Linked DNA regions of Homo sapiens: region 2 is linked to region 1. The links are contacts of gene promoters, found by promoter capture Hi-C in human tissues and cell types (Jung and others, 2019). All regions are on one chromosome and are shown on one strand. The core of a region is centred on a gene start or on the middle of the fragment in contact, and the rest is flanking DNA. Distances in the headings are between cores, read along the strand shown. Region 1 holds the start of SLC44A5 (solute carrier family 44 member 5). Region 2 has its middle 55 kb from the start of ACADM.

What was found. Contacts are between HindIII fragments. The study calls those that stand out against the background at their distance.
Region 2: a fragment that was not itself captured here is called in contact with the fragment with the promoter of SLC44A5 in region 1 in 1 of the 25 tissues and cell types used here (spleen).

The regions. Positions count from the first base shown.
Region 1 is chr1:75,609,135-75,612,840 of GRCh38, forward strand. It overlaps SLC44A5 (solute carrier family 44 member 5), which reads right to left and starts at 1,980. Exons shown (of 24, transcript NM_001130058.2): 1 at 1,906-1,980. The HindIII fragment of the contact is 17,791 bases long and covers 1-3,706 here.
Region 2 is chr1:75,667,437-75,671,142 of GRCh38, forward strand. It overlaps a transcript of SLC44A5 not described here. Among named protein-coding and RNA genes, the nearest start is that of ACADM, 55 kb to the right of the region's middle. The HindIII fragment of the contact is 6,184 bases long and covers 1-3,706 here.

The sequences.
Region 1 (3,706 bases), core at 730-3,229:
AGTAGAAGAGACGGCAACCTTCCTTTCTTAAATCCTCTTTCTCAGTCTCCTATTTATACCTCAAAGGACTAACTGGGCTGGGAGGAGGAAGGGATTCTTTGGTAAGGAGGAATAGATAAATACAGCTGGAAAGGTTTTTATTTGAATATTTTAGGGTTTCATTTCTTTGGGTTTTTTCTTTTTTAATTGGCAAGTAAAAATTTATATATTTATGGTGTGAAACCTGATGTTTTGATATATATACACATTGTGGAATGGCTAAATCAAGCTATTTAACATATTCATTACCTTACATTCTTATTTTTGATGGTGAGAATAAAAGATTGTAGATTTTAAGAAACTTTCTATCTTCTTAGTTTGGAGGACTGTGAAATCTTGTGCTGTTGGGAGATTTTAGGGCTTTTGTATTCTCTTTATCACTCTGATTTTTGGTTCGGTAGTGCTTCAATTTGGAAAGTATCTTCTAAACTAAATGAACTAGAGGAGCCAGGAATCAGTACTCAAAAAAGCAGAGGAGAAAGCAAGCTGCTACAAGAAACTCAAGGGAAACAAGAAAAGAGAACTTCAGGGTTTCAGCCCAATTCACTAAATAGGAAAGAGGGCTAAGATTCAAGATCAGTGTTGGAACTAGTAACAAATATTACATTTCATGATAGAGGTGCAAAAATAATGAACCACAGGTATATTCATGATCTAATGTTATGTAACCTATTACCCCCAAATTTTAGTGGTTTAAGACAAGAGTAAGCATTTATTATATCTTATGGTTTCTGTGATTCAGGAATCCAGAAGCAGCTTGATTGGATAGCTCTGGGTCGGGGCTATCATGAAATTCAGTCAGATGTTGGCTGAAGCTACAGTCATCTGAAGGCTTGACTTGGTTGCAGGGTCTGTTCCCAAGATAGATCACTCACATAACTAGCAAGTTGTTGCTATTAGCAGGAGGCCTCAGTTCTTCCCACACAGAGCTAAGATTCAAGACTTCTATGCAAGTCAAGAAATACACACACACACACACACACACACACACACACACACACATAGTGAAGTCTGAATATAAATTAGGAACTGAGCTCTTCTTCTCTCTCCATAGGTATATACATATACATACATATACCTATATACACATAGATATCCTGGAGAATTATTTAGAGAGAGCAATATTTCTACATCAGCTCCCTAGGCCAAGTAAGGTGACCCAATGGACTTCACTTTTCTAAAAAGTGCAGTTATACTTATGTATCTTCTCTTACTATTCATCAAAATACCGACAATATTTTGGGCTGAAATGTTAATAATATCTGTATGAACCTCTGCTTCAAAAAATAATCCAAGGGATCCTTGAGTATTTTTAAAACATGGCATCTGGTTTCCCCAAAATGAGCAACATAAGAAAGCAAAGAATACAAAAGAACAAGGCAGAAGCCATAGTGTATGTCTTTATGATGTAGTTTTCTGCTGTACAGTACTGATCACATGGTCAGCTGTGATTCATTTTGGAAGGGGAGTATGAACAGGTGTGAATACCAGTAGGTAAGGATTCCTAGAGATGTTATCAACATCTCAGCCCGAAATATTGTCGATATTTTGGTGAATATTAAGAGAAGATACATAAGTGTAACTGGACTTTTTAGAAAAGTGAAGTCCATTGGGTCACCTTACTTGGCCTAGGGAGCTGATGTAAAAATACTACTCTCTTTAAATAATCCCCCAGGATATCTATATATATACACACACACACACGGAGAGGAAGTGCTCAGTTCCTAATTTATATTCAGACTTCACTATATATATGTGTGTGTGTGTGTGTATTTCTTGAGTTGTATAGAATACGTACTTATGAATAACAAACTTGACCAATTTTCCTACAGACATAGACTTCTTGCATTTAGCAGTATCACTCACCTCTTACTCCATCATTTCTTCAATAACTCCATCAACACTGAACCTTCTAACTCTAACATGCTACGATTCACTACTGTGAAAAAAAAGCTGATGTCATAAACACATTGTGTTCCAGTATCACTAAGGGCCATACCCCATTCTTAGGTAATCCCTGAGGTCCTACTAGCCTTGCTAGCCTCAAAGGAGTCACTTGGAGTATAAAGAGGGGGAGGAGACTGAACAAAGTCCTGGAGCTATAGTATATTTTTTCATTGTTAATCCTTGGCAAAGAAGTAGGTAGTTTGGAGGTGGAAGTAGGCCATGATTACCTTTAAAATAATCTACTATTATTTGTGTCTTTCCTGAATATCATAGCACCTTCTTGTCACAAATGCTTAGGGGAAAGAAAATCATCCAATATACCCCATATCCCACTTACCAACATCTCTACAGTAAAATGAGACCCAAGAGCATGATTTCCTTAACTAGCTATCAAGCAACTACCTCCAACAAACAGCAGTTATCATTAATATGTTCATGCTATTTTCATTTGTGAGGTCTGTAATCCATCAGAACAACCTGACAGTGATTAAGTAAAATCAAAGAGACTTTGTAAACATCTGTGTGCTTTTATTGTTACAAATGCTTCATTATAAAAAGATCAGTCAAAAGCATAAAAGTACCCTGGTTTAAACTTTTTCTGTGTTTGAATGAGAATGTTTCTCTTGGAACATGCTCATATCAGGCTTCCACTTGGCAAAATCACGAATTGGCTGATGTTGTTTTAGAGGCTTTCTCATGTCCCCTTCCAAACATCACTCTTCTCCTTCTGTGGACCCCTTTCTGTTATCTAGGAGCCCCTCATGCTGCCTTCCACATTCTGCCTACTGCACAGTCATGTTCTGGACCCCTCAGAATCCCCCTCTACCATTACAATATGTTTTTCCTAAGACTTACTTGCATTGAAAGGCTTGCCAGGGAAGTGACTAATCTTATCATCTTGTACTAAATGTTAAATTAATCCTCATTCTCTCTAGAATTGTTTTCTAAGCAGGGATTCCTAGAGATGCTATCAATATCTCAGCCTGAAATTGCATAGGTATTCTGGTGAATAGCAAGAGAAAATAACGTGAGTATAACTGGACCTTTTAGAAAAGTGAAGTCTATTAGGTCACCTTAGTTGGCCTAGGGAGTTGATGTAGGAATGCTCCTCTCCCTGAAATAATCTTCCAGGAGAGGAATGTATCCCCAAATAGCAAGTGAATATCCAATGGCTTCTCATTGCACTTAAACTCTATATTCCTTTTTATGACCAAAAAGGCCTGGCTTCTCCCTAACTGTCTCTTCCTTACACATTACACCTCTTCCTTTTGTATGTGAATGTGCCAAGCTACCACCTCATTTCTACCTTAAGGCCTGAAGTGTTATGTTCCAGTTCTTGGCATGCAAATTACTCTTCATCACTTGTTTCCCGACACAAATGCCACCTTTCCAGACAATCTAAAGTAACCTCAAAATCATTTGCTCGCACATCACTTTGTTTTATTTCTCCTGGTATTAATCACTATGTGAAATTTTCTGGTTCATATTATTTGTCACCTGCTTCTTCCAGGCCTCCTCTTACTTCATTGTCTATCATGTTCATTACCGTATCCCTAGTGTTTTGCACAGAATCTGGTACATATTCAGTGCTCAATAAATATGTGCTAAATGAATAAATGAATAAATTAACCTAAACATAAGTTTTACACTTAAGTAATTGAGCAAGAAGTCTTTGTTGTACTAATATTGGAAAAGGCAGGGGTGGGGGTGGTGACGTGAT
Region 2 (3,706 bases), core at 576-3,075, 58 kb after region 1:
CAAAATAGAAAAATATTGCATTCTCATGGATAGGAAGAATCAATATCATGAAAATGGCCATACTGCCCAAAGTAATTTATAGATTCAATGCTATCCCCATCAAGCTACCATTAACTTTCTTCACAGAATTGGAAAAAAATACTTTAAACTTCATATGGAACCAGAAAACAAAAACAAAAACAAAAACAACACAATCTAGTACTAACCCTATTTTACAGGATACTGAGACACAGATATGTATAGAATATCTGAAAGAATACACAAGAAACTGGTGATGGTAGCTGCTTTGGGGAAATGGAATGAAGTGCCGAACTAAGAGGAGGACTTATTTTCTCTGCTGTATTGTTCAAATTTTTTTGCCATGTGAACATACTATTGAATGGCTGTCACAAAGAAAAACTGATTAAACAGATGGAAAAACCCAGCAGTCACTGTCAAAAGACATAACATTTCTTTTTATTCGAAGAATATGGAAACACATGAAGATGTTTTCACAAAGCAGAAGATAGCAAGCATGCTCCCAGACTGGGGTCTCTTAGAAAGCCTGAATTTTCACCTGGAAGCATTCTGGTTGTCTCTTATTTTATATAACTAATTTATTCACTTCCAAATAATTTGCCATTTGTGAAACTTTAAATCCTCTAAGAGTGTCTATTGCCATGTTTCTGCTAAACACATTGCTATCTCATTAAGACAACAACGGAATTACCTATTAAAAATTATAAATTTTTAAACAAGTTATATCACTCCAGGTATAAGATAATAGGTTTTACTGTGGAAGTGGCACTGGGCTAATAAAAAATAGGTAACTATCAACTTGTTATAATTATATTCCTTGGGGAGGATTACTTAAAAAGAATGTCCTGGATCCTAGGAGCCTTTTTTTTTTTTTTTTTTTTTTTTTTGGTAAATAAGATCTCACTGTCACCCAGGCTGAAGTGCAGTGGCATAATCACGGCTCACATGCAACCTCGACCTCCTGGGCTCAAGCAATCCTCCAGCCTTAGCCTCCCGAGTAGCTAGGATTACAGGTATATGACACCATGCCCGGTTAATTTTTTGAGAAGGAGTTTCACCATGTTCCCCAGGCTGGTCAGCTGGTCTCCAGCTCCTGGGTTCAAGTGATCTGCCTGCCTTGGCCTCCCAAAGTGCTGTGATTACAAGCCTGAGCCACCACACCCGGCCCTGGGAGCTTTTCAATAGTATTTTCTGAAACGCTTGTTTATCTTTCTGTGGTTAAAGGAACATTTGACTGTGTGAAGAAAACAGACCAATTGGCTGGGCACAGTGGCTCACGCCTGCAATCCCAGCACTTTGGGAGGCTGAGGCAGGCAGATCACCTGAGGTCAGGAGTTCAAGACCAGCCTGGCCAACATGGCAAAACCCCATCTCTATTAAAAATACAAAAACTAGCTGGGTGTGGTACAACGCACCTGTAATCCCAGCTACTCGGGAGGCTGGGGCAGGAGAATCACTAGAATCCAGGAGGTGGAGGTTGCAGTGAGCCAAGAGTAAGCCAAGATCACGCCACCGAACTACAGTCTAGGTGACAGAGTAAGACTCCAACAAAAGAAGAAGTGAGAAGAAGAAGAAGAGGAAGAGGAAGCAGACCAATAGAAAGGTATCTGGTCTTGAGACACAATCTTTTCAATTAAACTTCCTATTCATTTGTCCATCTGTCTATTTTTCTTGAGTTCTTTTTTCTTTTCTTTGTACCCAGATGAGCTCATTTTCTTGAGTTGTTACATAGCTGGAAGATAAAAAAAATTCTGCCAATCAAATGATGCTTCCTTAAATCTCATCTCTGCTGATGTTCTAGTCTTTAAGCTTGACCCAGTCCCATTCCTGAATTCCAAGCCTGACATGTGGATTCCCTATACCCAAGGTCACTGTACTGATTCCCTGCTTATGGTCTACTCCCTCTACATCTAGTCTCCATTCTGGCTTGACACTCCCAAACAAACTTTAGTCAAAGGCCTGCTCTTCCTGGGACAGCCCCTAGAGTGTATTACCTTTAGCCAGTGTATAGTCTCACCCAGTGGAGGACACAAATAAGATCTCATGTCAAACCATCACTACTGTCCCAACTTAGGAGGTGGGTAGCCGAGATTGATAAGGAGTTCTTTAATCTCTGGGAATGAAACACTTTAAAAATCTTATTACTTTTAATAACGAACATTCCCCTAACTCTTGTTGTCAGAATTCTGACGCCACTATAAGTTCTCCCTTACGTTCTTCCCATCCCCACCACACATACACACACAAACACACATGCACGCACAAAAAAAAACACCAGACACATACAAACCCATGTATTTAAATAAATAAAATACTTGAGCAATTTCTTCACAGTCTTGAGGACAGAAATTGAGTCTCAAACATACCAGGAGCTTTACTAAATTCTCTATATACATCTTTCACCTTCATAGATGAATGAAAGGGTTTCTGCCAACACTTCAGTAAATTATAAAAGCCAAATATCTCTGTTTTGAGGGTTGAATTATTAGGGGAAAAACAAATATGGAACCTATTTAAAAATGTATAACATGAGAGAAGGATAGCACTTACTATACAAATTAGAATTAGACATAATCCCCAGCCTGAAGGAGCTCAAGAGTTGAGCAAATAGAATTAATGATACAAATTACAAGACTTCTAAAATACAAAAAGAGAAGATAAAGAGATCAAAAAGATAGAAGATATGATAATGAATACAGAAAATAGTCATATTTCTAACCTTTTGAACCTGTAAATAACAGAAAACTCTAAAGGACAAAGGAAAATAAAGTAAGCAAAGGTAATAATCAATGATACCTAAAAGAAAACCTTCCCAATTTAAGAAGTTATTTGATCCCAGAGTTGAGATATTCCTACATGTAAGGAAAAATTAATAAATATATTATGATGACTTTTAAAGCTCAAAAGTAAAGAAAGACTCTAAAAAATTCTAGACAACACAAAATGAAATTACATACAACAGAATGAAAGGGAATTTGCCTTCTTTTTTGCAATTCTAAATGCTAGAAACAATAGAATTAAAACTAGGTCTAAATCTCCCATGAAAAACTAAAGTTATTTTGTTTTTATATTTGACAATTATATAAATATGCTTAATAATGTTTTGAAATTTGTAATGGCTTAAAGTGGAATTTAAAATAGACTGTCCCAACTTCTAGATCACTGGAGAAGAAGGTGGGTAAACCAATCTATATATAGGAGAAAATACAGAATTGGGGAAGAAGAAGAGTGTGCTGAACAATTCAGAAAAGATAGCTGTCATTATATTCTTTCTGACAAGGAGTAAGATAGAAACCACACCCCCTCTTCAAAGAGGGTTCTTGTGACTATACTTTGAAATTCATGACCTGATTATCCCAATAATAGGGACAGTTGTCTTACTGGAGTTTTAAATGCCAGACATATGGTGAGGAATTGTGTTAAAATATATCTGGGATTTGTTTTAATTGGGTATGATAAGACATGCACACACAGAAACAGAAATGACCGTCATGAAGAAAGAAGTTTATACTCACACATCCTTAGAAACAGGAAGCACTGCACGTAACATAGGGAAGCACCAAGGTCACTCAGGAGACAAAGGCGTAAGGAGAAAGCATGGACCAAAGACTTTCCTATGGTTTTTACAAGAAGGAATGAGTAAGGTAAGGTAGGCAGATTTAGGAGTGGTTTGTTTGAATAACTTAGT